Linked DNA regions of Homo sapiens: all the other regions are linked to region 1. The links are contacts of gene promoters, found by promoter capture Hi-C in blood cells and fetal thymus (Javierre and others, 2016). All regions are on one chromosome and are shown on one strand. The core of a region is centred on a gene start or on the middle of the fragment in contact, and the rest is flanking DNA. Distances in the headings are between cores, read along the strand shown.

Region 1 (8,000 bases), core at 3,566-6,065:
TACAGGCGTGAGCCACCATGCCCAGCCTTTTTTTTTCCGTTTTTTTTTTTGGCAGAGTTTCACTCTGTTGCTCAGGTTGGAGTACAGTGGCGCTATATCAGCTCAAGCAATCCTCCTACCTCAGCCTCCCAAGTAACTGGGACCCCAGGTGCATGCCACCATGCCCAGCTTGGAGATAAAAATTTTTACTTGCTATCTTCCAATGATTCTGCCGGGCTGATCAGCAAGCCAAAGATACAATGTAACTGACTAACAGACGCTCAGGGATTACTATCTATAAACCTGCCTACCAATGACAGAGGTAGTAAGGCCAACAAAATCAACAAGTTGCTGTAACAATTCGACTTCTATAAGCATAAATAAACAAATAAAAGGAGTTTTGACCCTTACTGGGCATCAAATACAAAAATTAACCCCAAAAGGATCATAGACCTAAACGTAAAACTTAAAATTAGAAAACTTGTAGAAGAAAACAGAGGAAAAATCTTTGACTTTGAGTTAGGCAAAGATTCTTGGAAAGGACACAAAAAGTATGAGCCATAAAATAAAATAATTGATAAACTTGTCATCATCAAAATAAAAAAACTCTGCTTGCTGAAAGACACTTAAAAAATGAAATGATTAACCACAGACTAGGAGAAAATATTTGTAAAAGACATATCTTATCAAGGACTTATATCTTGTGTGTATTTGTGTGTGTGCACCCTTACAATTCAATAGTAAGAAAACATGCCAATTTAAAAAATGGGCAAAAATTTTGAACAGACAGTTCGCCAAAGAAAAGATATACATGGCCAGTAAACACATGAAAGATACCCAATACTAAGGAAATGCAAATTAAAATCATTATACAGATATTAGAATAGCAAAAAGTAAAAATTAAAAGGATAACACCAATTTGCAGATTGAGGGCAACTATACCTCCGATAGATTGCTGAGAAATGAAAAATAAGCAGCCTCTTTAGAAAACTGCTTGGTAGTTTCTCATATAGTTAAACATATAATTATTATAATGTCCAGCAATTTTGTCACTATGTTGTTATCCAAAAGAAATGAAAACATATGTCCATACAATTGACTTGCATGGGAATGTTTATAGTATCTTTGTTAAGAATCACCTCAAACTGAAATAACCCAAATGTCTATTAACCAGTGAATGGATACATGAATTACAGTATATTCATACAATGGAATATTCCTTATCTGTAAAAAGGAACAAAGTATTATACATTGAACAACATTGATGGACTTCAAAAGTATTATGCTAAGTGAAAGGAACCAGACACCAAAAACTACATACTTTCTAATTTCATTTATATGACATTCTGCAAAAGGTAAAACTATATGAACAGGGATCAGATCAGTGGTTACTAGAGGATGGGGATAAAGGGAAGGAATTGAAATAAAAAAAAGTTGTTTGGGGTGATGAAATATTCTACATCTTAATCCGGGTGGTAGTGGTTTTATGTCAGTATGTATTTATCAAAACTCTTATAACTATTCACCTAGAGTTAATTTTATTCTATGTAAAGTATCCCTCAATAAATCTACATTTTAAAAAATCAATAGGGTGGAAACTAAAAATTTCTGCTTGTAATTTAGGTTCAAATGACAGCGATGTTTTTTATAATGTGCCAAGATCCTAAGGGAGGCAAGAAGTCGGTTACCGTGTGTCTTTGCCCATTTCATCTCCCCTGCTCTTTCTTTCTTTGCTCACTAGCTATGGAGCACACAGGCTGCCTTCCTCTCTCTAATTCAGAAAGATCATGGCAGCCCCACGCTCTTTGCATTTGCTGTCTCCCAGATCTCTGCAGAATTCACTCCTTCATATTTTGTTTCCAAAGTTAACCTTCTGTGAGAGGCTACCCTGACCACCCTGTGTAAAGTAGCTATTCCCCAACCCACGTCACTATCACATTAATCTGTATTATACTTTCCCCCATAGCCCTTACCACTATTCGAAGTTTTTACTTGTTTGTATACTTCTTGTCTGTGTCTCTCTAGAACACCTTCTAGAAAGAACACTTTTTTCAAAGGCCCCACTGGCTTTTGTCTGTCTTTTTAGCCTTCTAGACCAGTGCCGGCACAACAGACACACAATATACAGATTTATTCAACGAGCATATTCCTTGTTAAGCTGTAGTAGGCATCTTTAAGTAATAAGCTTTCCATTGAGATTTTGCCAATATAGTCATATAATTAAATGTTTAACACACATCATATTGTCACTAGCCCTTCTCATGATATGGACTTCATATCCATTATTCATTTGAAGTTTATTGGAAAGAACACTAGATTGATAGTCAAGAGTCCAAGATTCTAGCCTTGATTCTGCTACTAACTGTTAAGACACTGCCCCTTTGGGCCCAGTAATTCTATTTCTAGAAATTTATTTCAAAGAACAAAATTGGACACATGCACAAACATATATGTACTGGGATCTCATCATCCTGTGTAGTTACACTGGATCAAATTTGGAGAAAAATAATTTAACACAATGAGGATCTGGCTAAAGAGACTGTGGTATAACCACCAAAGCCACGCTATGAATTTATTTGAAAGTGATGATTGTATTCATTTTGTTTCTTATTCAATAAACACTTATTGAGTATTTGCCAATTTCAGGCACCGTTGTATGTAGGTTCAAACACAACAGCAGTAAATGAAACAAAGGTCCCATGCTCATAAACCTGATATTTTTGATGGATAAGAAAGGCAATAAAATACATAAATATACTATGTAAGATGATTTCAGATGATGAGAGGTTCTATGAAAAAAAGATAATACATAGTAAGGGTTTCAGGGGCATCTCCCAAGAGAAAGATTAGGGATGCGCTATTTTGCATAGAGTAGTGTAACCCCAGAAGAACTCTTTGAAGTCACATTTGACCAGAAACCTGAATGAATTGAGGAAATGAAGCCGGGCGCGGTGGCTCACGCCTATAATCCCAGCACTTTGGGAGGCCGAGGCGGGCGGATCACGAGGTCAGGAGATTCAGACCATCCTGGCTAACACGGTGAAACCCCGTCTCTACTAAAAATACAAAAAAATTAGCTGGGCGTGATGGCGTGTGCCTCTAGTCCCAGCTGCTGGGGAGGCTGAGGCAGGAGAATGGCGTGAACCTGGGAGGTGGAGCTTGCAGTGAGCCGAGATTGGGCCACTGCACTCCAGCCTGGGTGACAGAGCAAGACTTCGTCTCAAAAAAAAAAAAAAAAAAAAAAAAAAAAAAAAGGAAAGAAGGAAATGAGACGTGTCAATATCTGTGCAAAGAGTTCCAGGCAAATGCATTGGCCCCAAGGCCGGGATGTACTTGGCAATTTTGTAGGGCCTGTGATATAGGCCAGGGGAAGGATGTCAGATTTTATTCTAAAAGTCATAGAAAGCCTTGGAGGATTTTGAATAGAGGAGTGATAAGACCGGTCTTATATTTTAAGAAGGTGTGGTAAATAGACTAAGGGAGGACAAAAAATCAAAGAAGTCCAGGTGAGAGATAATGGTGGCATGGCATAGGACCATAGCAGTGGGAACGGTGGTCAGTCATATTTGGAACTTTATTTACTTATTTTTAAATAGATCTAATGCAAAAGGCTGGTATGGTAGTTTCGGTGGGGTATGTGAGAAAGGAGAAAAAGGTGATTCCTTCGATTGAACATTTGCAATTGAGTAAAGTGCAACTGGGGAAAGATGTCTGTCACCACTGGATATGAGGGTCTGAAGTGCAGAGGAAACGGTGTTCCAGGGCCTGCATGTAATCATCCAGCTGATATCTGACTGAGAAGTGGTTGGAGAACTGAGTCCTGGGGCAATCCATTAATCAAATGTGCCAAATGCTGCTGACAGATGGAGTAAAATGAGGACTGGGAACGACCATTGGAAGTCACTGGTGCAGGATACATTGGGGTCAGCGGTGAGGAGAAAAGCTGGATTGGGTTATGCTCAACGTAGATGGATTTCTTCAGGAAATAAATTGATACGTGCGAGGGATTTAAAATGGGGGAGTCCGGAAGTGGTGGTTCACGCCTACAATCCCAGCACTTTGGGTGGCCGAGGCGGGCGGATCACTTCATATCAAGAGCTCGAGATGAGCCTCGCCAACACGGTGAAACCCTGTCTCTACCAAAAATACAAAAAAAAGAAAAAAAAATAGGTGAAACCCCAACTATTCGGGAGGCTGAGGCACGAGAATCGCTTGAATCCCGGAGACTGAAGTTGCAGCGAGCCGAAATCGCGCCACTGCAGTCCAGCCTGGGCGAAAGAGAAAGACTCCGTCTCAAAGAAAAAAACAACAAAAAAACCCTGCATGTCTATATTTTCGAATTTGTATGTAAGACGTCTTAATTGTATGCGTTAAATTAAAAAAGGACAAAAGGAATGGAACTACCAGCAGCGACTAAGTCAGTAAAAGAGTGGTAATGGGGAAGGGGGTGGAATATACGCAGGCGCAATAGCAAGCGTTTCTTTTGGAGGTTATTTTCGTGTCATAAATTTCTAAATTCACGTTAAGTCTTACAAGAGCATGTTAAACATTAAAACATAAGATTGTTTCTGGTCAATAAGGGGTCTATAAAAAATAAAGCAATAAGGTGTCTTGTTCAATTTTATGCCTTAATTCAAAAAGAAACGAAGAAACGGAACCCTCAGCTACGACTTTTAAAAGTCAGTAACGGGTGGATGGGAGGAGTCAAACATACGTAGGCGCAACAGCGAGGGATCGGTCTGAGGCGGAGCTAGAATTTCGTTAAAGGACAGCTCTTACAGCCAATCAAGGACAGAGTCGGTGGCTTCTTCCCGGAGGAGACCGGAAGTTGGTTTCGGCTGCAGAGGGGAAGGCGGCTACCAGTGTAAAGCCAGAGCTGAGGTAAGTGGGCGGCAACGGTTTGGGGCCGCCGCCTGTGTGCGTTTTTTTCTTCCGGACCCCGCAGCTTCCTCTGTGCTGGGCTGGGAACTGGGGAGGCATGGCTGAGTTCGGCCTCCAAAGGCGGTCTTTCGTCTTTCTCTCCCGAGTCTCTCCGAGAGTGCGGTCTCTCCGAGAGCGCGGAGGCCTCGGGGTGGACAGCCTGGAGGAGGGGGCTCTAAGCGTGGCAGTCTCGGGGCTTCCTCCGTGTTGGGACGCCGAGCCGGAGTGGAGGTTGGGAGACCTGGCGTCTAGTCCCCGCGCCGCTGTTTTTCTAAGCTGTGTGGCCTTGGGCGAGTCATTTGCCCTCTCCGGCTCTTTGTAACATGAGAGTAGCCCTCCCTGCCCTTCCTTCTTCTGGGAGCAGTTATGAAACAGCTGAGGTATGGGGGCAGGCGAGGGCGGTAGATCCCAAGCCTAATCGTCAGGTCCATCTGGAGAGGTTTTAAAAGCGACATTCTAGGGCCCATTCACAGTAGACAGAATGAATCAAATCTCTGGGGCTGGGACCCTGGAATGTCTGTCGTCTTCTGGTGAAGCTCCTTCTCCCCCAGTAGAACAAACACTAGATGTTGGATCTTGAGTTAAGAACCAGCTCTGATGCTTGGCTCTGCTTTTATTAAAAATAAGACCTCCATCACCTTTGAAAAGTTCCATCTAGAGAGACAGTAGAGAAAGAAATATAATTTTTGTGATATGCCAGTCCTTATTGTACAGTTAGATGCTTCTCGGCTTAGGGATATAAGAGAGCTTGCCCTTTGGAGCTAAAGGGACCTGGGATAAGAATTCCTGTTGTGCCATTTATTAACCTTTTGATCTGGGGCAACACTTCCCCTCATTGAGACTTCGGATCCTCACTTCTAAAATGAAATTGATAATAGAACTTAATTCGTGGGACCGTGTGGTGGCTCACGCCTGTAATCCCAGCACTTTGGGAGGCCGAGGTGGGCGGATCACTTGAGGTCAGGAGTTCCAGACCAGCCTGGCCAACATGGTGAAAACCTGTCTTTACCGAGAAATACAAAAATTAGCTGGGCGTGGTGGTGCGCACCTGTAGTCCCCAGCTACTCAGGAGGCTCAGGCAGGAGAATCCCTTGAACCCGGGAGGCAGAGGTTGCAGTGAGCCCTGATGGTACCACTGCACTCCAGCCTGGGAGACAGATTGAGCCCTTGTCTCAAAAAACAAAACTAACAACAAAAACCCCAAAAACCTTAATTCATAGAATTGTTAATGAAGATTATGTTACAGAGGCCATAAAAAATGGTACCTGTCATGTAGTTGGCCTTAGGAAAATGGCAGCCGCAATACAGGAATGCACATCGTGTAGGAAAGTACAGAGCAGCACTCCTCACCTAAAAAGGTTTGAGTGGGATGAAACGTGAGCTGTCAAAAATTGTATTTTCTGCCGGGCACGGTGGCTCACGCCTGTAATCCCAGAACTTTGGGAGGTCGAGGCAGGTGGAACACGAGGTCAGGAGATCGAGACCATCCTGGCTAACACGATGAAATCTCGTCTCTACTGAAAATAGAAAACATTAGCCGGGCGTCGTGGCGGGCGCCTGTAGTCCTAGCTACTCAGGCGGCTGAGGCAGGAGAATGGCGTGAACCCGGGAGTCCGAGCTTGCAGTGAGCCGAGATCGTGCCACTGCACTCCAACCTGGGTGACAGAGCGAGACACTGTCTCAGGGAAAAAAAAAATGTATTTTGAAGTACCAGATCACTGTTAATTCTTTGATTTTGGTAATTGTGCTTTGGGTAGAAGAAAACATTCTTGTCACGAGAAAACACACTGAAGTATTCAGGGGTAAAGGAATGAAAAACCAATAAAGCAAATGAAGGAAAATGTTAACATTTGGAGAATCTGAGTGAAGAATATGAAGTGTTTTTTGTGTATTCATGCACTTTTTCTGTAATCTGAATTTATGTTAAAAGTTTTAAAATGTCTGGGTGTGGTGGCTCACGCCTGTAATCCCAGCACTTTGGGAGGCCAAGGCAGGAGGATTGCTTGAGCTCAGGAGTTTGAAACAAGCCTGAGTAACATGGCAAAACTCTGTCTCTACAAAATATACAAAAATTAGCCGGGCTTGGTGACATGCCTGTAGTCCCAGCTGCTTGGGAGGTTGAGGTGGGAGGATCGCTTGAGCCTAGGAGGGCGAGGCTGCATCATCCTATGCACCACTGTGGCATAGTGGAAACTCAGGGCTGCGCCACAGCTGCCCTCAGTACCTCACGAATTCTAAGTATAATATTGCTTCTAGTAGGATACTTGCCCCACCCGATGTTAGAGTGTGTTATATCTTGAAACTCTGATAACACCAATCTAAAGGAGCACTTAAGGATCTTCTCATTGGATGGTATACCTAGGCTTAAGGTAGAATAAGTAGAGGTTATTATGGCCATAGATACTGGGTTTGAACCTGGGGTTTGACATTTCTGTGATAGTTGTAGAGAAGTTAATGTGTCCATACAGGCCAGGCGTGGTGGCTCACGCCTGTAATCCCAGCACTTTGGGAGGCCAAGGTGGGCGGATCACCTGAGATGGGGAGTAAAGAGACCAACCTGGCCAACATGGCAAAATCCCGTCTCTACTAAAAATACAAAAATTAGCCAGACATGGTGCACGCCTGTAATCCCATCTACTTAGGAGGCTGAGGCAGGAGAATTGCTTGAGCCCAGGAGGCGGAGGTTGCAGTGAGCTGAGATCTGAGATTGCACCACTGCACTCTAGCCTGGACATCAGAGCAAGACTCCATCTCAAAAAACAAACAAAAGTTAATGTGTCCATATAAAATTGCATAGTATACTGTGACAAAAAGGGTATGGAACTGAATCATCATTTCATTCAGGAACTTTGGATAATAATGTGTTTAGGATTTAGCAATGTTAATTTTGTCAGAGTGTTTATGAGAGATACAAGTAAGTGTTTGCTATTGGAAATAAATCTATAACATAAAACAAAAGTGATTGTGATATGAGATTGGGAGACAGCCTGTGTAGTTTGGTTATGGAAGAGTAAAGAAATGGGGCATAAGTGGTGAGGGGCATGGAGTCCAGAAGATTTTCTTTAGAGATGAGAGGATGCTACATATTTTTTAATGCTGAT
Region 2 (8,000 bases), core at 2,535-5,034, 2.1 Mb before region 1:
CCTTGGTCTCCCAAAGTGTTGGGATTGCAGGTGCAAGCCACCGTGTTTGGACACATTTTTTAAACAACCGCCATTCTAATCATGTTTCTATGCTAGTGGAAATGACCCAGTAGAGAGGGGACTTGATGGTATGAGAAAGAGGGATTTATTTCAGATTCTAAATGCTGGAAAAAAACAAGAGGCTGAGATTCAGATTGCTAGTGGAGAATCTGATCTTTTGTTGAAGCCAGGGAACCTCTACCACGGTACAAGAAAGAAGGCCTAAAATACCGCTACGTTCTGGTCATTTCATGGTGGATAGACAAGGGATTTGATGGATCACTTTGATTTTCTCAGCTACTCACTCAGCTGAAAATAGTGGAAGAGAGAGGATGGGTGGTGTGGAAGGTTTGAGAAGACAGCAGAGCATGCCCCTCTGGGAGTGGGAAACAAATGTACCAGGACAATGCAGTGGGATTGTGGAGTGGGCCTGAAGGCTCAGATTTGAGATTTGTGATTGGTTGTGTGATTTATCCAGCAATATCAGCCACTCAGGTGCAGGTACAGAGCAGACAGAGAGCCAAGAATCCTTGTAAGTGGCACATTTAAATGACACACCATAGAACTTATGGTGGGTGAAGAGAGATGGCAGGACATAAGGAGAAGATGTAAAGAGCTGGTAGGGTCAGTGGATTGGAAGCTTGATGCTGAGAACACTTGAGTAAAGACACTATGAAGAAAGCACCAGAACCTTAATAGGAGTGGTCAGCAGGAAAGTTTATTGAAAATAAGGTTTTTGCAGCCAGGTGCAGTGCCTCACACCTGTAATCCCACCAGTTTGAGAGGCCTAGTAGGCAGGTGGATCACCTGAGGTCAGGAGTTTGAGACCAGCCTGGCCAACATGGTGAAACCCCATCTCTACTAAAAATATAGAAATTAGCTGAGCACGGTGGCGGGTACCTGTAATCCTAGCTACTCAGGAGGCTGAGACAGGAGAATTGTTTGAGCCTGGGAGGTGGAGGTTGCAGTAAGCCGAGATTGTGCCTGAACTCCAGCCTAGGTGACAAAGCGAGACTGTCTTGAAAAAAAAAAGGAAACAAATAAAATAAGTTTTTTGGAAGTTGATGACAAATTAGCTGAAGACATACTATAGACAATCTCCTAAGTGGAAGAGAGAAGGAGCGAGGGATTCAAAAAGAAAGAAACTGTGGCTCATGCCAGAAAGAGTTTATAATCAATTAAGGGATAAAATATGTATCATGCAGCTTTATAACATGGCAGCATACGTAGGTCCATCTATCTAACTGGGTCATAACAGGCTTGAAGGCAGAAATTATGGTCTGGTTCATTTACATCACACTTAGCACCTGCAGGAATTGTGTGTTCTAATTCACTTATATGGCACCTAGCATCTAACAGATGCTATGAATATGTGCTCAGTAAATACTGACTGATAGTATCTTTAGTATCTTTGAATAGTGAAGGTATAAGCATGATAAGCCAAAAATAATAATAATAACAATTATGATAGTGCTTATCCTGGCTTGGGCTGCTATAACAACATATCTTAGATAAGGTAATTTATAAACAATATAAATATATTGCTCACAGTTCTAGATGTTGGCAAGTCTAAGATCAAGGCAGCAACGGTTGTCTGGTGACAGCCTGTTCCTGGTGATAGTGCTTTCTACGTGTCCTCACATGGCAGAAGGGGCGAACAAGCTCCCTCAAGCCTCTAATTCCATTTATGAGAACAGAGCCCTCATGACCTAATCACCTCCCAGAAACCCCATCTCTTAATACTATTGCAGTGAATAATAGATTTTAACATATGAATTTTGGGGGAACATAAACGTTCAGACCATAGCAATGCTGCTTTCCTTGTGCAAGACATTGTTCTAAGTACTTTATATGTATAATGACACATCTGACCACAAAATCCTGTGAGGTAGGTGTTATTAAATAGGAAATTAGGCAAAGAAAAGTTGAGTACCTCGGCCAAGGTCACACAGCTGGTAAGAGGCAGAGCCAGGCTTTGAACCCAGTTAGAGTAACTCTAGTCTGCACTCTCCTAGCCGCCACCTCCATTTCCCATTTAGAAAGAGTAATTAATTAGCCACACTCTACTCAGAAGTCTATGACCCAAAGCAAACGTTCTTATTTTGTGAAACAATGTGGAGACATTGTATTAGTCTGTTCTCATGCTGCTAGTAAAGACATACCTGAGACTGGGTAATTTATAAAGAAAAACAGGTTTAATGGACTCACAGTTCCACATGGCTGGGGGAGCCTCACAATCATGGCGGAAGGTGAAGAAGGAGCAAAGGCGTGTCCTACATCGCAGCAGGCAAGAGTGGGTGTACAGGGGAACTGCCCTTTATAAAACCATCAGATCTCGTGAGACTTATTCACTATCACGAGAACAGCATGGGAAAAACCTGCCCCCATGATTCAATTACCTCCCAGGTGGGAATTATGGGAGCCACAATTCAAGATGAGATTTGGATGGGGACACAGCCAAACCATATCAGACATCAAAGAAAACTCACAGGGGCCTGGCGCGGTGGCCCACGCCTGTAATCCCAACACTTTGGGAGGCCGAGGTGGGTGGATCACCTGAGGTCAGGAGTTCAAGACCAGCCTGGCCAACATGGTGAAACCCCATCTCTACTAAAAATACAAAAATTAGCTGGGAGTGGTGGCGCATGACTGTAGTTCCAGCTACTCAGGAGGCTGAGGCAGAATCGCTTGAACCCAGGAGGCAGAGGTTGCAGTGAGCCGAGATCATGGCACTCCACTCCAGCATGGGCAACAAAGTGAGCCTTTGTCTCAAAAAACAAAAACAAAAACAAAAACAAAGATAACTCACAGGGAAGATTCCTGAAGTGTTATTGTCTTTTGTTTATATAGTCATTTCAGGTAAAATAATCGTTCATTCATTACTAAGGAGACACCAGTGGGGCTTGAGTTCTACACTCTGTGAACAAACTCATCATCTATCCTGGCATTATCAGTGGGACAGGAAGCAGGTGCAGCATAATGGGGGATATACACATAGAACCCTGACAAGTCTGGGTTGTATCTGAGTTCTGCTGCTGCTAGCTGCGTGACTCTGGACAAGTTACTTGACCTCTCTATGCCTCAGTTCTCTCATTTTTAGAATGGCAATAATTATACTATCTACTTCATAGGTTTTTCATGATAATTAAATGTGATAATTCATGTAAACTACCTAGTACAGGACCTAAAACATAGTAAATGCCCTAAATGTTACTCTTCTAAGTCAACTCCTCAGCATTTAACTGATTTCTGTGTTAAAGTCCAAACTCCTTCGCATGGCATGAAAAGTCCCTCCTTAACTCCTGGACTGGCCCCAGCTTACCTCATCTTTCCCCCCATTCCCTCTGTAAATCTGAGATCCAATCATAATTGTTTTGCATATCCTTTCTTATATGAACTTTACACTCTGGAAGTAACTCGGAAGATTTGTGATGCAATCAAAATGCAATCTGATTTTATCACTCACTATCCCTTTAAGTATTCAGAAGGAGTAATTTTTTTCTGCCTTCCAGTGGAAACTTGGACAGATATCAAGAATTCTTAATTAGTGGGCACTCCTACTCACTTTAAGTAAAAAATCAGTCTGGCTTTGGTAATTAGAAATGTGTCAAGATATTAATTAAATGCCTCAATCTCCATCCAAAAAGTGAGAGTTCTCTGCACTTGTGAGGGCCTGTGGTCACCTTATGCTCTCTCTCCCCCACTTAAATCCTTCCCAGGCACCAGCAGCTGCATCAGACCCCACCTGGGCAGAAGCCAGCTAAGGCAGTGCAGGTTGCTGGTGGTCTTCAGGTTGTCTGCATCTGGCAGGTGCCTAAACTTGATTCTTTCACTTCTGGGTGCACGTCTTTTTTTTTTTTTTTTTAATATATAGCAGTTTATTAAAAAGAATATATGGATACGCAGCGGTAAGTGACATAATTGATAAAAGAGGACCCACAATATCACTGATTCTCCTATTACTCCATGAAACTACTCCATGCAGTGATTTACAAGGGACCCTGGTTTGCAGGGTGCACAAGTTGCTTCACATTATAGAATATATAACACATAGGAGTTGTAATTTCATATAATCTGAACAATTGGCACCACTGTTACTGGTATCTTAACTGGTAGAAGCTAGCTGGCTTTTTATAACTGATCAACTATTGTGAGAAGCTGTTGACTCTCCATGGGTTGTTTGAAGATTTTTTTTTCTTTTTTTGAGACTGGGTCTGGCTTTTTTGTGCAGGCTGGAATGCAGTGGCGTGATCTCGGCTCACTGCAACCTCCGCCTCCTGGGCTGAAGCCATCGTCCCACCTCAGACTCCTGAATAGTTGGGAGGGACTACAGGTGCATGCCACCATGTCTGGCTAATATTTTTATTTTTTTTTAGTAGAGATGGGTTTTCGCCATGTTGGTCAGGCTGGTCTCAAACTCCTGACCTCAGGTGATCCACCCACCTTGGCCTCCCAAAGTACTGGGATTACAGGCGTGAGCCACCATGCCCGGCCACGCCCAGCTAATTTTTGTATTTTCAGTAGACACAGGGTTTCACCATGGTGGTCAGGCTGGTCTTGAACTCCTGACCTCAGGTGATCCACCCACCTTGGCCTCCCAAAGTGCTGGGATTATAGGTGTGAGTCAGCACCCGTTCAGCTGACTCCTATGCATTTTTCAACACTCAGAATATCTCTCCCCATCCCCTCAAGAACCCACAAATGGGCTAATCCCACCCACTTCACACTATTTGCATTTTCATGGTAACATTTTCTCACCTCTATCACAACTAACCCACACCACTTTGTATATCTGTGATAACCAACCCACATCATTTATGTGTCTGCCCCCACTCTAAGACATTGGAAGGTCTTGGGGTCAGAGACTCTTGAGATTTACTGTTACATCCTCAAAGCCTAACATACAATAAAATGCAAATTTCCGGCCTGTGGGGTGGCTCACACCTGTAATCCCAGCACTTTGGGAGGCTGAGATGGGGGGATTACTTGAGGTCAGGAGTTTGAGACCAGCCTGGATAACATGGTGAAACCCCATCTCTACTAAAAATACAAAAATTAGCTGGACATGGCAGTGGGCAACTATAATCCCAGCTACTTGGGAGGCTGAGGCAGGAGAATCGCTTGAACCTGGGAGGCAGAGGTTATGGTGAGCCAAGACTGTGCCACTGAGCTCCAGCCTGGATGAAAGAGGGAGACTCCTCTTCAAAAAAAAAAAAAAAAAAAAGTAAATTACCATTAGCAATCGCATAAAAAAATACCAGGCATGGAGGAATTAATGTAACAAGAGATATGTAAAATATCTACGTGGAAACTAAAAACCTCAGCACGATCTTGGGAAACTCAACAAGCTGATTCCAAAATTGATAAGGAAATGCAAAGAACCAAGATCCTCCCGAAAACAAAACAAAACAAAGAAAACCAAGTGGGAAGATGTGCTTTACCACATATCAGCTTCTTAGAGTCACTGGAGCAGTCTGGTGTCAGCACAAGGATAAACAAAGAAACCAGTGGGATAGAATAGAAAGTTCAGAAACAGATCTATTCAGATATGCACACTCAATTTATGACAGAGATGGTGCTGTGGAGCACAGAAAAAACAGGTTTAAAACAAGCATTACAAATAAAAAATATTAAATTTAAACTAAAAATTTACCTTCCTCAAAAGACATCATTTTGAGACTAAAAAGGGAAGCTACATAACAGAACATTTTGCTTGACACATAATTGACAAAGGACTTGCATTCATAATATGCAAAGAATTACAAAAGAAAACAATAAGCAAAGGACAACGTAAGGGAAAACTGGGGAAAAGACTTGAGCAATTCATCAAAAAGGAAATCTAAAAAGGCCCCCAAAATACGAAAAAGTACTCAACCTTATTGGCAATTAGGGAAATGCAAGTTAAAAACCCCACTAGAATGGTTAAAATTAAAAGTCTGACAATACCAATCATAGGCTGGGAGACAGGGCAACAGGACCCAGATTGCTATTAGGCAAGTAAGGTGCTGCAATCACCTTGAAAAACAGTTTGGAGTTACCTAAGAAAGTTGAAGATACGTAGCCCTGTGGCCCAGCAATTCAAGGGAAATATGTACAGGTGGTGACCAGGAAGGCAAGTGCAAAAATGTTGACAGCAGCATGATTCACCATACCTATGGCTCCAAAATGAAACTTTAATGTTCATAAATTCAATGTTCATAAGTACTAGGATGATTAAATCATATTCTATTCATAGGACAATTCTATACTGCAATGAAAATGAAATAACTGTAGCCTCACGAGAACGTAATTGAATCTCACAATGTTAAGGAGAAAAAGCTAGTCACAAAAGAATATCTAGGCTGGGCATGGTGGCTCATGCCTGTAATCCCAGCACTTTGGGAGGCTGAGGTGGATGGGTCATTTGAGGCCAGGGGTCCAAGGCCACCAAAATGGTGAAACCCTGTCTCTACTAAAAATACAAAAACTAGCTGGGCATGGTGGTGCATGCCTGTAATCCCAGCTACTCAGGAAGCTGAGGCAGAAGAATCGTGTGAACCCAGTAGGCAGAGGTTGCAGTGAGCCGAGATTGTGCCACTGCACTCAAGCCTGGGTGACAGAGAGAGGCTCTATCTCAAAAAAGAAAAAAAAAAGGAAAAAAAAATCTAATACTTGATTATTTTATGCAATTTATATAGCATTCAAGAACAGGCAGAACTAGACTACAGTTTTCAGGAATTCATAGTTAGGTGGTCAAAGAAAGAAAAGAAAGTGACTACATTAAAGTCAGGAAAATGATTACCTTTGGGGCTAGTGAGACAGCTGTGAATGAAAGGGCATGTGAGGGTCTTCTGGGATGTGGACAAGCTTATATTTCTGGATAGTGGTTAAATGGTTGTATTTCATAATAGTATGTGGAGCTGTACAATTGTGTTTTTATGTACTTAACATTATTATTATTAGTTACCTCCTTATGTTCATAGCAGCATATTATACTCAGGGATGGGTGACAAGCAAATTATAAGGATTGAATGCCTTGGGACTCTTAACTGTAAATAATCAAAAACACAACCCAAACTGGCTTAAGCCAAAAAAGGTAATCTATTGGGTAATATAAATTAAAGAGTGAGGAGGTCAGCATGCTGGCTTCAGATAAGGCTTAGAGCTCTTACACTGTGACCAGGTCCTGGTTTCTTTTTTGTCTCAGGTTCTCTTTCTTCTGTTGGCTAAATCTTCAGTTGGTTCTTTCCTTTTGTATCCCAGATAGCTGCCAGTAAATTCCTGGGATTACAGGTTTCCTTTTTTAGGTCTAGCAGAAAAGAGAAACTTTGCTCTTCCCATAGCTCAGTCAAAACCTCTGATGTTTAGTCCTACCTCTGATTGGCCCAATGTGGCTCACGGGTCCTTCCCTGGACTAAGCACTAAGGGAGAAAGGATAAACTGGTGGAGCCCATTCCTGGTCAATGGCCAACAGACCACCTGTTTATTCAAGGTTCAAGTTGGTATTAGAAAGAAGAAGAGGAGAAGAATAGCGAGGAGGTAGCTAACAAATGTCTATGACAATCAATGTCCATTTTATTTAGTTGAATATCATCACACATAAACAACAACACACAGTTTTGCACTACTCCCTACCTCAGGCTTAATCAGAACCAAGGCAAAGAAAGTAGCTGGATAGAACAGAGGTGCCAGTTGAGCTAAAATCTGAAAACAACAGCAAAAATATAATTTGTTTCTGCTGATGTTAGTGATTCTAAACAGTCACAGGTGCTCAGATTGATGAAAAGCAAAGCTGGCTTGTCAGATTGGATCTTCTTTAGAGATATTTTGAGGTGAACTGAGAAAAATCTGAGTATTGACTGGGCAGTAGAGGATGTAGAGAACTATACTCCATTTTCTTAGGTGCGGTAACGGTAATTGGTAAAATTTTTAGAAGCAGCAGCTTGGAGTATTCAGGAGTGAAGTGTGTTGATGTCTGTAGC
Region 3 (8,000 bases), core at 3,080-5,579, 2.1 Mb before region 1:
AAGAGATTGAAGAAATTAAAGTCAAGAAATACAAGCATGAAACAGATAAAATTTACCTAGAATAAAAATCATGATCCTTACTTTTTAGGTTTTGGTTTATTTGTAATGTATATAGCAATATATTTTATTAATGTTGTGATTGCAGAGTTCCAGACATGGTTTGAATGGTACTATAGTGGTTTTGCTAATATTTTATTATTAGAGTTGCCTGTCACAAAATATATCTTTTATAAAGTCATGAAGAGTTGTCCTGTCTCTCTGAGATTTATTTTTATCACTTTCTGGGTTCTAAAACTTAGCCCTGAGAACGTTCCCCTTACATCCCTAAGAGGTAAGCTGTTGTGGAAAGAAGTATGATGTAGTAGAAGAGATGGTGCACTAGAAACAAAACGTTTCGGTTCAGTAAACTCATCTTTTGTGGATAGCACTACCTTGGGAATGTCTCTGAAATGGGAAAGTTCCTTTATGTTGCAAAACACTGTAATTCTCAGCCTTTTATGAAAGGCTTTGTATGTTAGCCAATTTATGGAAAGTAATTCCCGTCAGTTGTAGAACAACTGGGTACTTGGCTTAGATTTTTAGATTAATCAGCAAAGTCATACATACTGTGGTTTTAAAAATGTGCTTATATATTGTTTCTGAATAGGTTGAAATATTTATTATAAAAACAGCTGCCTGATAACCAGGAATATTAATTTTAGAAATTGAATGTTTTCGAGTACAATTGAAGTTCATAATCTGGTTTATAATTTTATAAAGTTAGTTGAGCCATCTTAAATATGCTTACTCCATGCCAAAGTAGAGTAAGCTCAGTGGTTGCATGAACAGATATTTTCAGCTTGAACAATGTTTTGGTTGGAGTTACCTTTGTCAAAATATTACATAGTGTTTATGTAATGCTCCTGTTTACAGAATTTCACCCTCAAATACAAATCAAATTTCACCTTAATAAAATAATGTATCTACATTCAGAAATAAAAAAGCATAAAAAGTATTTAATGAAAAGTATCTCCCTCCCATCTCTGTTACTCATTCGCTGAGTTCTCACTCTGAACACCATGTAGCTTTTATTTCTTTCTGTATAATTCTAGAGATATTTTTATGTATATATAAGTAAATATAAAAAATGTATATTTCCCCCCTTTTTATACAGATGTTAGCATGGTATACATGGTTTTGAATCATGGTTTTTGTTTGTGATGTATGTGGAGCCATAACTACTGCTTTTAGATATTTATGAAATAGAGTTTTGTGCTCTTTTTCTTATGATGACAGTCTGCCGGATCTTAAAGACTCTCTTGAGTAGATATCGAGGCCTCATTTCTCCTCTTCCCGATTGCATTTTACGTTGGCATAGTATCTTCGTATGGATATACCATAATTTATTGAACTAATTACTCCATTGGTGGACATTTTAGATAGCCTACCTTCTGCTATTTTGTACAGCGTTGTGCTAAATAACTTTGTATAGCTATAATTTCAACAAGTACAAATATAACCTGGGGCTAAGTTACTAGAAGCGAAGTTGCTGGGTTAAAGAGTACAGTGGTCCGTCGGTGTATGCTGGAAGTTGGTTCCAGGATGCCCACGTATACCAAAATCTGCGCATACTCAGGTCCCTCAAGTGACCCTGTGGAACTATGTATGCAGAAGGTTGGCCCTCTGTATACGTGGGTTTTGCATGTTGCAAATACTGTATTCCATAAGAGTTTGGTTGTAAAAAATCTACATGTAAGTGGACCCTCACAGTTCCATCCTATGTTGTTCAAGGGTTAACTTATATATATTTGTAGTGTTGACAGATAGTACTTTCCATAGGGTTTTACTATTTTGTACCTCCAAAAACCGTGGTTGAGAGTTCCTACAATCCTATATTATCAAAACAGCCTGTTACCACAAATATTTTGGCTACTCCAATAGGTGGAAAAATTGATTTTTTTAACTCAATGTAGTTTTAGTTTGCATTTCTATTATGAATGAATTGAACATACACATACTTAAGAAAAACCTGTATTTTCTCTTCTGAGAGTTGTCAGTTTATATACCCTGCCCACTTTTCTGTGAGATTCTTTTTTTACCAATTTGTGGGAATTTGGTATACATTAGGGAAATTAATCCTTTGTGATAAGTTGAAAATAGTTTTTCCAGTTTCAACTCAGTGATTTTGCTTATGATTTTTTGACATTTAGAAGGTTTTTAAGCTTTAGTATTTTGAGTCAATTAGAAAAGCCTTCTTTATTCTTGAGTTTATAAAGAATTCTGTTGTATTTTATCTTACTATTTTTGTGGGTTTATTTTTACATTTAAATCTTTGCTTCATTTATCTGTATGAATAGTGTGTTATAGGTATAATTTTATTTTTTCTAGATAACCACACAGTCATCCTCACCTATTTAGTCCATTTTTTTCTCATTATATACTGAATTCTCACATATATTTTGTTTCATTTTTGAACTTCTCTTCCTTTAGTCTGTCTGCCTGTTTGTGAACTATTAACACGCTGTCTTATTTGTTGAGGGTTTAGATTATATTTTACTGTCTAACAGGGTTAGTCCCTTCAGTTTTCTTTATTTCCTCCTCTGAGCTTTTTTTTTATGGTTAGTTTTCTATGTGAATTTAAGAATTGTCTCAAAATTGTCTAGGTCTCATTCCAAAAACAAAGCAACCCATTTGATTTTTTTTAAAATTTAGATTGCATTATTACTAATTTTGGGGGCAGGTGGGGAGGATGGGTTCTTGCTGTGTTGCCCAGGCTGGCCTGGAACTCCTGGGCTCAAGTGATCCTCCTGCCGCAGCCTCCTGACATTTATTGTTTCTAGGTATTTTATCTTTTTTATTGCTATCGTAAGTGGGAGTTTTTCCCCCTTTATGTCTTCTAATTGTAATTAAGGAGCTTAAAAATTAAGGGAGGGAGCAATAAAGTTTGTATTTAATGGAATGTAATTGTGTCTTCAAACTTAGAAGCTTTCCAGGGTGGGTTCTGCTGAAAGAGAAGTGACTGCCCACTGTTTTTTGGAGTGTAGGATATGAAAGGAGGAGTAGAAGTAATATTGGTAAGGTAGAATAGGGCTTTTGTGAAGAATCCTGAATACATACAGTAGATATGGTGCTTAATTCTATAGGTCGTGGTGGGTCAGTGGGGATTTTAGAGCAGGTGAGCTGCATTTTAAGATTGATTAGGCAGCGTTTTATAGGATGATGGATTGGGGAGGGGAGAAACTGGAGGTAAGAAGACCAGTTAGGATTTTAGGCAAGAGGTAATGAGAGCCAGAACTGGCAAGGTAGAAATTAGAAAGGAAGAAATGGATGCGAAAATCCTTTTGAAACTACCATCACTAAAATCATTAGTGACTTAAAATGTAAAATTCAACCCTCATTTATGTCCTAATTCTACAGACTTTTCTATGTTTATGGAGCTGTTTACCACTTCCTCTTTCTTGAAAGTGTTTTTTTTTTTTTTCCTGATTTTTCTCCTAACTCCCTGACCATTGCTTCTGATTCTTTTGATTTGTTTTCTTTAGACTTCTCAAGTGTTGATATTGCCCACAATTTGTGTTTAATTTTAATCTTTTGTTGTTTGGGTGACCGAACGTAGTTTGGGCTGCAGATCTCTGTCTCCACTTTACATTGCTTTTTGACCACTGTAGTCTGGAGTTGATGTTCTTCCTCTGTGATTCCATGGAACCAGTTCACATCTCTACCATAGCAATTATTATGTTGCATTCTAAGGGTCCATATGCTTATCTATTTTCCCAACTGTTAATAGATTGTGAGCTCCTTTAAGGTAAGAAGGGGGTTGTTTATTATCTCAGTATTCCCAGCACCTAGCTGGTGCCCAATAATGAATGAATTTTATATATATGTATGTATGTACGTGACAGGGTCTCACTCTTGCGCAGGTTGGAGTGCAGTGGTGTGATCATGGCTCACTGCAGTCTCAGACTCCTGGGCTCAAGTAACCCTTAGCTGCTGGAGTAGCTGGTACTACAGGCATATACCAAGGTCTTGTTTTGTTACCCAGACTGGTCTCAAACTCCTGGCCTAAAGTGATCCTCCTGCCTCAGCCTCCAAGAGTGCTAGGATTACAGATATTAGCCACTGTGCCCAGCCCTGAATGAATGCATTTTGAATTACTTCTTAGACATTTCCACCTAAATAGCCTATGGACATTTCAATTTGTTGTCAATCACTGAACTCATCACCTTTTTCTCACCTCAGAAGTCTTTCTCCTGCTGTGTTTCCTGTCTTAATAGCAAAGCTGTCTTCTTGATTACCCAAGCTAGAAACATCAGATCTTCACTTCCTTGTTCTCAACTAGTCACCCACAGATAACCACTAAGACCTATTTAAATATGTATCTCATGGCTGACTGGCAGCTCCATACCCAAAGCTACTGTTACAATCCAGGCTCTCATCTTACCTCTGGTCCTGCTGTTTACCCTACAACTACCATAATGTTTAAATAGCAGAAATTATTAGATTCATCAGTGTTGTTTTAAGCAGGTCATCATTTTGATTTATTTTTTATTTTTTCTGTTCTCAGAGTCTGTTCCCGTAGGTCATTATTTCTTTTATTTATTTATTTATTTATTTATTTATTTATTTATTTAGAGATAGAGTCTCACTGTCGCCCAGATTGGAGTGCAGTGGTACAATCTTAGCTCACTGCAGCATCAACCTTCTGGGCTCGTGTGATCCTCCCACCTCAGCCTCCTCAGTAGGTGGGACCACAGTTGTGTGCCACCACACCTGGCTAATTTTTTGTATTTTTTTGTAGAGACAGGAATTTGCCGTGTTACCCAGGCTGGTCTCGAACTCCTAAGCTCAAGTGATCTTCTGCTTTGGCCTCCCAAAGTGCTGGGATTACAGATGTGAGCCAACACATCCAACCCTTATTTTTTATAGAGACAGGGTCATGCTCTGTCACCCAGACTGGCAATCATAACCTCACTGTAACCTTGAATTCTTGGGCTCAAGGGATCCTCCCACCCCAGCCTCCCGAGTAGCTGGGATTATAGGTGTGCACTACTACACCTGGCCTAGGTCATCATTTTTAAATGCCACTGGTCTTGCTTTTTAATTACAAATTACTGTGTATAATTTAAAAACTAACAGCTTTGCCATTGTCAACTTAGTTTGTTATGGATTGTTTGGTTAATGCTGTAGAGTGAGTTGTGATGCATGTTTGTGTCAATAGTATTTTTGGCTTGCATTTTTTAAATTGTTAGATTATATATACATCGTAGTTCAGATGGTTCATTCATACTGCTCTCATAGTTAGTATTCATTGTCTCTCAAAGTTTTCTTACACAAATATTTTGTTATCACAGAGTTACTTTTCCACTGGAATATAAAAATGGGGTATAGATGAGCAATGGTGCTTTTGTTGTTTTGGTTTCTGTTCTCTTACCTCACCTAAATAGATATTGAAGAATTTGAGAACCATTAGCTAAGTCTAAATTCTTGATTATTGTATTTAGGCTTTATATTGAGGCTTTAGCTGCTAGTTCTTTCAGCATCATCTCCCAATCTTTCTGTTAACATCAAAGTCTAGTCTAACGTACAGAATTTACTGTCCCCTGAAAATTACACTTTTATGGTTTTCATGCTTGCTGTTCTCTTTTCCTAGAATGTTTCCTTTTCTTCTTAGCCTGGTAAAGAACCATTCACCTTTAGAGATCCAAGTCAAGCTTAATCACTTAACCATAGCCCTTCCAATGTTCATTTATTATAGCATCAATTTTGTCTAATAATTACTTTTGTCCATGCTTATCTTTTCACTAGATTATTATTCACATTAATTTTGGATCTTCCATGTCTAGGAATGCAAGTGGGTCATACTTTACACATAATAATGTTGATTGAATGACTGGATAATTGAAGGAATGGATGAAATGAATATGTTTGATCTAGAAGATTTGGCCGCTGATTTTATATGCGATATATAGGAGAAAGAAAAGACAAGACCGTTCTGGAAAGGAAAATGACAGTTTCGTTAAAAGAGAGTTTAAGGAGAAGTTTCATGTAATAGACATTAGAAAATCCTTCAGCTACAATCAGTGGAAATGCTTAGTAACTATATTACATATCCTTTAAAATACCTCTAAAGTCATTTGAGGTAGGGGTTAACAAAATTGGGGAAATTATTTTAAGAAATAAAGAGCAAATAAAAATACTTATCTCTGGCTTTTGATGGACTGTCCTTGCAGTTAGGATGTGTAGGAAATCCTCAGTTCTGTTTCTTTAGTCCCAAGCATGCTCATGTTTTCTTAGCTTTTGGCATGATTGATTCAGCATGAGAGAGGCAATAGGGGATAAGTAGGAGTACCTGTGCCTTAATAAAGATTTGTAAATTAAGTGGAAGATGGTTATAGAAGAGTAGACTGGGTCCAGATTGTGTAAGACCAAGAATGTCAGGTTCATAACTTTTAGAGCAGGAGAATTGTCAAGTAAAAGTGATGGTGTTAGGAATATTACCCTGGTAATTAAGTATATCAGGGTGTCCAATCTTTTGGCTTCCCTGGACCACATTAGGAAAATAATTGTCTTGGGCCACACATAAAATATGCTAACACTAGTGATAGCTGATGAGCTTAAAATTGCAAAAAAAAAAAAAAAAACTCATAATATTTTAAGAAAGTTTATGAATTTGTGTTGGGCTGTATTCAAAGCCATCCTGGGCCACATGTAGCCCATGGGCCGTGGGTTGGACAAGCTTGAAGTATAGGGTATACAAAAATAGAGACTGAAAGAAGGATGGTAGTATACTGTGCATTGCAGAGCAGATTAGGATATGGGACATAGAGGTTGGAATGGAAGGGTAACACATGAGAGGAATTTATCATGGAAGGCTCAGCAGGACTTGACGATAAGAGAGAAAAGATGACAGGTTTTGAGTCACTGAGTTACTTTGTTGAGGGAGGAGGTGGGGAGCACAGTTTGTACTTGTTGAATATGAGAACATTTAAGTGGAATATATCTCAGGTGTCATGAGATGGGATGTCTACTTAGATTAAGAAATGAGGATATGTTTTTGCCTGTATAATAAGTTATCAGTAACTTTGTTGATAACATTTATAGAAGAGATGCTGATACTTGAAGTTACAAAATATGTTGTTTGCACTAGGTACTTTATATATAGAGAAAAACAGTTGTTTAGGAACCAAATTTCCAGTGTTTATTGGAAAGCGTGAAAAGAAATTAGAGAAGTTAGAGGGTAAGAGGAAATCCATATGAACAGAGCCAAAGAGTAACAACGTTTTGATGGTCGTTGCCTGGATATTGGGGATCAAAAATAAGCAGGATGTCTTAGATGTGATAAGTAGGCAGTCGTTGACTTCCAACTTTCTTTAGAGCAAACAAGTTAGGGGGGTTTGTAAAGGGATTGTAGATGGTAAAGAGAAGAATAGATGCTTAGAAAATAGAGGCATTGGGTATAGATCTTTTCAAACATTTGACAGTGGAATGAGAAAAATAATAGGAAAAAAATCGCAGTGAAAAGAAGTTTATTTTTTTTTTCTCAAGATGGGTAAAAGCCCTGCACATTCTTTGAAACAAAGGTAAGGAGTGATGTCAGGGGGAACGACTGAAAGTATAGGAGATAGAGAGTCTTCAGGGGTTGGAGAAATAAGGTCTTAAATCACATGGAAGGGGCAGCCTTGGAAAGAGACATTAAGACACCCAGTTTTTCCTCTGGGACTAGAAAGAAAGAGAGAATTGGCATAAAACAAGTAAGTTGATATCAAGGAAAGGTAGATGAAGAAAGGAGTTGTGTTACACATTTGTGTGATATATTTGATTATTAGGTAGAGAAATCTACAAAAGAAGTGAAAAACACAATACATTTTCAACAACAAAAAATCCATAGGGGTGTCACTATGCTAAACTTACTTTGGTAAGTATAATAAAAAACCTCAGAAAGTACTGAAACCTATTTGGAAAATTATTTGTCTCAAGCTCTTTCTTTTATTGTAATTAATTGGGAAACTAAATTAAAATTG
Region 4 (8,000 bases), core at 3,728-6,227, 2.0 Mb before region 1:
TAGTATCTTAAATTTACTTATTGCTGTTGAAAGCCATGACCTTATTGTCAAAAATGAATGTCCGGAAACATCAAGAACTTGAGATGTGATTGAAATATTCAGGTAGCAGAATGTTAAAAATAGAAGTGTTGGCTAAGGCCTAAAAACAATATAGATACAATTTAAAGTGAAGTACCAGACCCCTGCTACCAGAGTGTACCATGCCAAAATGCAAAAAAGGAAGTAAGAGAAAACCTGTTTTGTGACTTTGAAACTCACCCATGTAGAAGGTGTTAACAGGCCTAATATTAGAGATTAGAGGAGGATTTCTTCAGAGAGAACTCTTTTTTTCTGAAATACTTCCCCAGCCCTTTACACTAGAGGATTCACTGGGGGACCATTTGGGGAGTTATGTGTCTTGTGTGGTGAAGGGGGGAATGCTGTGGACTGGTGTCTGACTCACCCTGGAACATCTTTTTTTTTTGAGTTACACTTTTATTTTTATTTTCTTACATTAAAAAACTTTTTTTTTTTTTTTGAGACAGAGTCTTGCTCTGTCGCCCAGGCTGGGAAAACATTTTTTAGATAAGTTTCTGGGGGAACACATGGTGTTTGGTTACATGGACAAGCTCTTTAGCAGTGATTTCTGATATTTTGGTGCATCCGTCGCCTGAGGAGTGTATGCTGTACCCAATGTGCAGTCTTTTATCCTTCACCCACCTCTCACCTTTCCAGGAGGCCAGAATTCCACTATATCATTCTTGTGCCTTTTCAGCCTGCAAAATCTAAAACTACATTGTCCAAAACTAGCCACATGTGGCTGGTTAGCACTTGCAGTGTGGTGAATTGAGATTAAGGTGTGCTGTATGTGTAAAGCACATACTCAATTTTGAAGACTTGGTACAAACCAGGTTAACTTTTAATACATCTTGTTAACTTTTAATATAGATTGAATGTCTATATGATGATGTTTAGGATATGTTAGGTTATATAAAATATATTGTTGATTTCACTTGTTTCTTTTTACTTTTTGAAATGACACTAATAGAAAATTTAAAATTATATTTGGCTTACATTATAATTCTAATCTGATATAAAGGACTAGCAATAGACTAGTTGCTTGTTGAGTGTTTTGACTGTGGAATGAAAATGCCTTATAGGGTTTTCCTGTATCTTCTGATACAGGAAATTGTAGAGCAAAGGATGTAAGTTTCTTGTGAACTAGACAGTGGCCCCGAAAGTCTGTGTAGGATTTTCTTGGGTCCTGTTCAAGAAGGCCTTTTAGATGGATGAGAAGACCTCAACAGGGATTGACCTTCCAGATTCCCAGGAGCTGAGAAAAGAGCCAAAAATGGCCAGTTGAGGGTGTATACCAAGCACCAAGGGTACTGCTGCAGGTGAGAGAGCCACAGTGATAGGAACGGTTTCAGAAGAACCCATAAAAGGGTCCAGGGGAAAATAAATCAGTTTTAGATACCTCAAGTCTAGGAAGCACCAGTAACAACCACATCATTGTAAGAGTCCAGTTAAGTAGGAACCTGCCTACTTCCCTCCCTCTCCTTCTTCCCTACCCACTTCAATCCTTGGTAAGTCAGAGAGAGAGGGAGAAGTGCTAGGTCAAAAAAGAGAAAGAAGCCAGCCACAACCTCCCCACCTTCTCTCCCACTTGCAGGTTTTCTATCTTAAAGCATAAAGGTAAAAATTAATGCTTTCCCTAGAATGCCTGAACTCTAGAGTAAGGGATAAGTCTCAACTTTAAATCTGTTTGAAAGTTTCAGTTATTATTAAATTGAGACAGTAACCTAAGCTAGAGTAGAAAAGTTATGGGACTTGCCTTGGATTTTATCTAGGGGCAGGAAAACCACTAATCTCTACAGAGTGGATTTTAAAAGACAGCAGAGGACAAAAATAATGTTGCTTTATGACTATCGTTATGAGTTGGCATATTTATTAACGGTAACATTCAATAATGAAGATATTTGCCAAGTTAGAAAGCTTGTAAAGTTTTAGTTTATGATGCATATACTTGTATTATAAATATGAAGCATATTTCTTAAAACTCTTCTTATCAGTGGCCATGGTCTTCTGTTTACTTAACTAAGATTCAACTTTCCAAAGTCCATAAACTATTAAGGAGCATGTTTTCTTCCAACTTAGATTTTAAAATAATTTTCTGGTGTTTTTCTTCATTTCAGTAACAAACTTTTTTGAAAAACTAGGTAATTTTAATATGCCATGATTTCTTAGGGTTGCCAACCTCTTGGAGATATTTCTAATAGTGGAATCCTGAAATCTAAAGAGTACATTGGGATTTTGGTTTATGCAGAGTTAAAAGTTGAAATAGGCAAATCAGAAGACAAACAACTTATTCTTTTGGAACTTCAGGGGAAATTCCACTAACAATATGACTCCTTCCTTCTTTTACGTCAGCAGGAGTAGTCTTCTCTTAAATACGCCATATGAGTCATATTCTTCTATGAAAGAAGATAAAGGGAGCCTGTAACCCCAGCACTGAGCACCACATGTGCTGGCATAGACTTAAGGGAATTTTCAGAGCTTAGAGGAAGTTTACATTGTGCTCAACAAGGACATTTAAATTTCATAGCTATAAACACAGTGAAAGCCAGATCATTTGGTGGCCTCTTGTTTTCTATATAATTAGGAGTTTTTCTTTTCTTTATGCCTTTATGATTATTTTTCACATTACTTTAGTATCAGTTTTTTAAAGGCCAAAATTAATGCTTTGTGAGATAAAATACCGTATGTGTTTATGACATAGTAGATTGTTGTAAGTGTTTGGTCTTATGTAAAAATGGTTGACATTTTTGTATTTTTCTAACACAAATTGAATTTTCCTTATTCAAAATGCTTGGCACCAGAAGTGTTTTGGATTTCTGATTTTTTTACATTTTGGAATATCTGCATTATATTACTGTTTGGAAATCCTTAATCCCAAAATCTGAAATCCAAAATACTCCAATAAGCATTTTCTTGGAGCATAATGTTAGATTTTAGGGCATTTTGGATTTTAGATTTTTGGATTAGGAATATTCAACATGTATATGGATAGAATACAAACAAGTCCCAAATTTTCATTTTGGTTTTCATTGACAAGAAGTGAGAGAATATGATTAATTATTCTAAATTAATCTGGAAAATAACATTCAGTAATCTCCAAGAAATTCTGAAAGGAGCAATGAGAGAGGACTTGTCCAATCAGTATGATGGAGCAGGGTGGTACCATCATTAGAATAGATCACTGAAAACAAAAAGTAACAAGTTCTTATATAGACCTAAATATGTAAAAGATTTTGGAGTTTACTACAGTGGCATTTCAAATTAATGAGAAAGGAATGGATGATTCCAGTAGCCAGTTTTGAGATAACCAGCTAAACATGTACAAAAAACAAACTTCGATCTTTATTTTCTTATTCCACAATAAATCAAATGTATTAATTTTTAAGTTAAAATTAAAAATTAGCTAAAAATTACTAAAAGAAAATACAGCTATTTGTATAATCTTGAGTGGGGTAGCCATGTAATAAGCCATGGCACTAAAGGTGGGTACTATTAAGAAAAAAAATGGTTTGACTATTTTCAATACATACTTTTATAAGAGAATAAAGTTATTTAAAATATTAAGACAAGGGACATATTAGAAAAATGCAATCATGTGACTAAGGATTACTATTTCGATCAGGCAGTAGGATACGTATTCTAGCAGAAAAATGGGCAAAGAATGTGAACATTTCACCAAATAATTGCAAATGTTTTCATATACTTATTGATAATGTTCAGTGCTGTTAGTAACCAACAAAATGCCAATTTAAAAAATTTGGGAAATATTCCCTGTTCTTCCCATCTCTAAATTATACTCACTATGGCAAGTTAATAGAAAAATAGCCACATTATACACTGGTAAATTGTTGCTGGAGGGCAGTCTTGACAGTGTGTCAAAGTCTTTAAAAATGTTTTTTTCTGATTCAGTAATTCCTAGCCTAAGAGAATATTAGGAAATGTGTTCCAAGTAGTTTATACAAGGATGTCATAATGTAAAAGCTTATTCATACAAAGCATTTTATAATTATGGAATATTTGGAAAGGGCTAAATGCAAATATCATGTCACATACATTCAGTGTACCCCAGGGTGTTCTTAGGACTACCTTTGGGTTGTGGGATTATAAGAGACTGAGAGTTTCCCATTTTGTTCTTTGTATTTCTGTGTTTAATGTAATGATCATGCGTAATCCCCAGTGAGAAGAATTTATTTAGTTTTTAGTTTTAACTTATGATTTAGTTATTTGGGGCAGTTTACTTGGCCCTCCAAAAATAAAGATTAAAAAATTATCAGAACAAATATTGTTGCAGTATGATCTTGAACAAGTAATTATATCTCTTGGATTTTATGCTTTCACCTATAGACCAGAACAGTTAAATATTGCGTACCTTTGGAAAAGAAGTTATGTATAAACATTAGCAACTGAATTGTCACAATACTGAATTAGACATTGTTTAAAGTTTTCTTCATATTACACATGGCATCACAGACGACCAGTGGAGATTTATGCTGCTCTTTCCAGATCAGCCCTACAGAATTAGTATTCAAAATTCACAGAACATGTGAATATGTAATTATAGTCAGATGAAGTTTAAGTTTGATTTAAAATATTATCTACGAGATTTTAGTTAGACTTCTTCAAAAGTTGTGTTATTATCCTTATCAACAGTGTTTTTTGTTTGTTTTTATTTTGTGGATGCCAAATACTCAAAATTAAATGTATTCTATTCCCTATTTTAGGTCAGTTGGTGGTGTGTACTTTATGCTCCTGTGTCATGAAAACAAAGCAGATTTGGCTGTTTTCAGCTCACATGCTTCCTCTGCTAGCACGACTCTGCCTTGTTCCTTTGGAGACAATTGTTATCATCAATAAATTTGCTATGATTTTTACTGGATTGGAAGTTCTCTATTTTCTTGGGTCTAATCTTTTGGTACCTTATAACCTTGCTAAATCTGCATACAGAGAATTGGTTCAGGTAAGACTGCTGACAACCACAAACAGGTAGATAAAATTCTACATAAATGTTAAGTACATTAAAGTTATAGTTCATTTTTATTTCACAGTTATGGTACCATTCATTTTTGCAGTTTCAAAACAGCTGCTATTTTCAGCCCAATTAGGAGCATCTGAAAGATTCTTGATTATGTTCTATTGAGAAGGCAGTAAAGTGAAGTGGTTCTCTTAAAGCAGATTTATCTGAGATCGAACCCTGATGCTGCTGTTCACTAGCTGTGTAACCTTGTGATAATTGCGTTACTTTCTGTAAAACGGAGCTAATAATGAAAGCTGTGCTTTCCTCATAGAGTTCTGTGAGATTTAAATGAGTTTAGTACCAGGCAGACAATGTTCCATATGTGTTAGCTATTGTAATGAAGACAAAAATAATAAAGAATTGAATACCTATAAGTCAAATCCTGCTTTTTCCTTCTGATTATAGTCCTACTGTGACTATAGTTTCTTCCCTTTGTGTGCCTAATTTAAACAGAAAAGTTAAATAGTTCTGGGTTATAATATGATAGATTTCATTTAGATATAGTACTTGAATTGACTTTGCCAACATAACATGCTTTTTGTAAAAGTTTCTTCCCTACTTTTTTCAGCCTTTGCTCTAAGATAAATTACTCCCAGATACAAACAATACACATTTGGGAAATAAATGTTTCTGTTTGGTTTAATTGATAGTTTGTAATATATAAAATAGATTTTAACCTGACATTGGTATAAAAAGAGAGTGTTAAAATGTCACTGTCTTCCACCTCTTGACTGTGTCCTTAAGGTACAGGAAGCTCTCAGATAGAACAAACTGATAACAGCTAAGTGAAGTATTCTCTTGTGGCCCCAGGGGCAGATCTTTGAGAATACTTTCTCTAAGCTTTTGGCCTTAGCCTGATTCTATCTTCGTCTTACACAGTGATTAACTTGGGCAGTTTTCCCAGGAGTAGATCTTCCAGAAAAGGGATTATTTCTACAGTCAGTGAAGAGTGGCTTCATGGGGAAGCAGGGCAGGAAGGGTTATAGTTGTATTCAGGGTAATAATGACAAATTTAAGATACATATTTTTTCTTTGAATTCAGTCTTATGAGGGTTATCTTTGTTTGTAATAAATAATGAATATTCAGTAAATACTTATTGAATATTAAATATTTATTGAATAACCTCAGCCTTCATTTTTTAATGTCATGTTTAGTTGGTTGCCATAAGATTCATACATCAACTAGATGTAGTTGTTGGAAATATAGGTTATAAAATGCGTGACCAGGAAAGAATCAGATAAGCAAGAAATGGAAACAGACAGGTTTTTTTAGTGGTCTGTTTCTTGAATGGAAAGGAAGAAAAATATTCTCTGCCTCGTAATGATGAGTTTACCTGATAATAATTTTGCAGCTAGTTGGGCAGTTTCCTTTTTCTTTTAATCTTTTGTCACTGGGGAAAATAGAAGTTAATAGACTGGGTTGTAGAAAAAGCCTTTGCTTTACTGATGAAAGAATTTTAAATTTAGAATAATCTGCAAGTCAATTTATTTTAACTTAATACTTAAAGATGTTTATACCTTATTGAAACATTCTGGTATCACATTGAGAGATTCCAGCAAGACCAGCTGACTGCTAGATACTGGTTTTGTAAGCTGTCCAGCAGAATTCCTGCTGTGTCACCAGGGTCTGGTCCCTGACATAGTAACTCTAGAAACTTGGTTACACCTATGCTCTTAGATTGAATCAGATTCTGTGATTGATTTTTCCTAATCAGTTTCATAAGAAGAGTGTTTTATAAACTGGAAAACTAATTTAGTGAGTTGCAGATTATTAAGCCTTTTTTTTTTTTAAGATATATCCTTTTCCTAGTGTTACTTACACTTGGCAAACCAAATGGAAAAACATAGCTTGATAAAAACACAGTAGGAGGAAGGGGAATTGATGTGTATGGGAGAAAAAGACTTGCTAACTATCTTTGCTCTGCAAAATTTTTTTCCAGTGATTAAGTACTCTTCTTCCATTGAACTGTTTCTCATTTGTGACATTTCTGAATAAACCCTGAAAGTTTTTACTTTTGCATTTTTTTTCCTAGTGCCTCAAGCAGTGTTGTATCAATTCATGCTAGTCCTGATTATTTTGATTAGACATGAGTGTTTACCAAGTCTCCTCAAACTACCTTTTAAGGTTATTTTGTACTGAATATGACCTTATTTTGACCTTATCCCTGAACTATTAGGGCAGTTTACTGTGCTATTAGATAAGTGTGTGTCAAGTGTTAATAATAATGCAAAATTAGTAAGTTTTAAAAAACATGCTATTTATTAACTATATAGGCTAACTTTAAAGGAATTTAGCTGAAACAGTCTTGCAATCAAAGAAAAGCTATTTAATATTTTACTTCTGATTTGACTCAAGTGTTTAAAGTGTTTATTGATGGTGATGCAAGAAGTTTTCCTATCTTACGTTTTTATTTAGGTAGTGGAGGTATATGGCCTTCTCGCCTTGGGAATGTCCCTGTGGAATCAACTGGTAGTCCCTGTTCTTTTCATGGTTTTCTGGCTCGTCTTATTTGCTCTTCAGATTTACTCCTATTTCAGTACTCGAGATCAGCCTGCATCACGTGAGAGGCTTCTTTTCCTTTTTCTGACAAGGTAATTAATAAGAGCCTATGATACTATATATAACCTTAGAAAGAGAAAACTTTGATCTAGGAATAGTAAGTTTTGCAGATTACTTTTATCGTTCATGTTACACAACTTCGTATTTTGTTAAGATAGGATTTTCATTCACTGGATACCTAGGTTTGGCAATGCAGGGAGGTGCTAACATAATAATGTGGTTTATTTGGCTGCACTATGGACCAGAGTGTAGCAAATGATTTGTGGAAAGGTACATAGCAAATCGTAAAAGTATTTTTTCAATTTCAAGTTAAAATTATTGGGTCAATCAGAAAAAAGTATATTATAAAAATAACATTTATTGAGTATT

The links. Contacts are between HindIII fragments. The CHiCAGO score rates a contact against its expected background, and 5 or more counts as called.
Region 2: a fragment that was not itself captured here is called in contact with the fragment with the promoter of MED7 in region 1 in 1 of 17 cell types (neutrophils); the score reaches 5.8 in neutrophils.
Region 3: a contact is called between a fragment that was not itself captured here and the fragment with the promoter of MED7 in region 1, in 1 of 17 cell types (naive B cells). The highest score is 6.5, in naive B cells.
Region 4: a fragment that was not itself captured here is called in contact with the fragment with the promoter of MED7 in region 1 in 1 of 17 cell types (fetal thymus); the score reaches 5.7 in fetal thymus.

What each region holds. Positions count from the first base shown.
Region 1 is chr5:157,139,680-157,147,679 of GRCh38, reverse strand. It overlaps MED7 (mediator complex subunit 7), which reads left to right and starts at 4,815. Exons shown (of 2, transcript NM_004270.5): 1 at 4,815-4,860. RefSeq lists enhancers at 4,188-4,287, 5,098-5,147. The HindIII fragment of the contact is 9,177 bases long and covers 2,167-8,000 here.
Region 2 is chr5:159,214,211-159,222,210 of GRCh38, reverse strand. No RefSeq gene overlaps it. Among named protein-coding and RNA genes, the nearest start is that of RNF145, 8.7 kb to the right of the region's middle. The HindIII fragment of the contact is 6,206 bases long and covers 682-6,887 here.
Region 3 is chr5:159,194,850-159,202,849 of GRCh38, reverse strand. The region is part of intron 2 of RNF145 (ring finger protein 145); the gene reads left to right. Among named protein-coding and RNA genes, the nearest start is that of RNF145, 11 kb to the left of the region's middle. The HindIII fragment of the contact is 2,726 bases long and covers 2,967-5,692 here.
Region 4 is chr5:159,173,646-159,181,645 of GRCh38, reverse strand. RNF145 (ring finger protein 145) reads left to right here. Exons shown (of 11, transcript NM_001199383.2): 5 at 4,779-5,014; 6 at 7,488-7,663. Among named protein-coding and RNA genes, the nearest start is that of RNF145, 32 kb to the left of the region's middle. The HindIII fragment of the contact is 1,873 bases long and covers 4,041-5,913 here.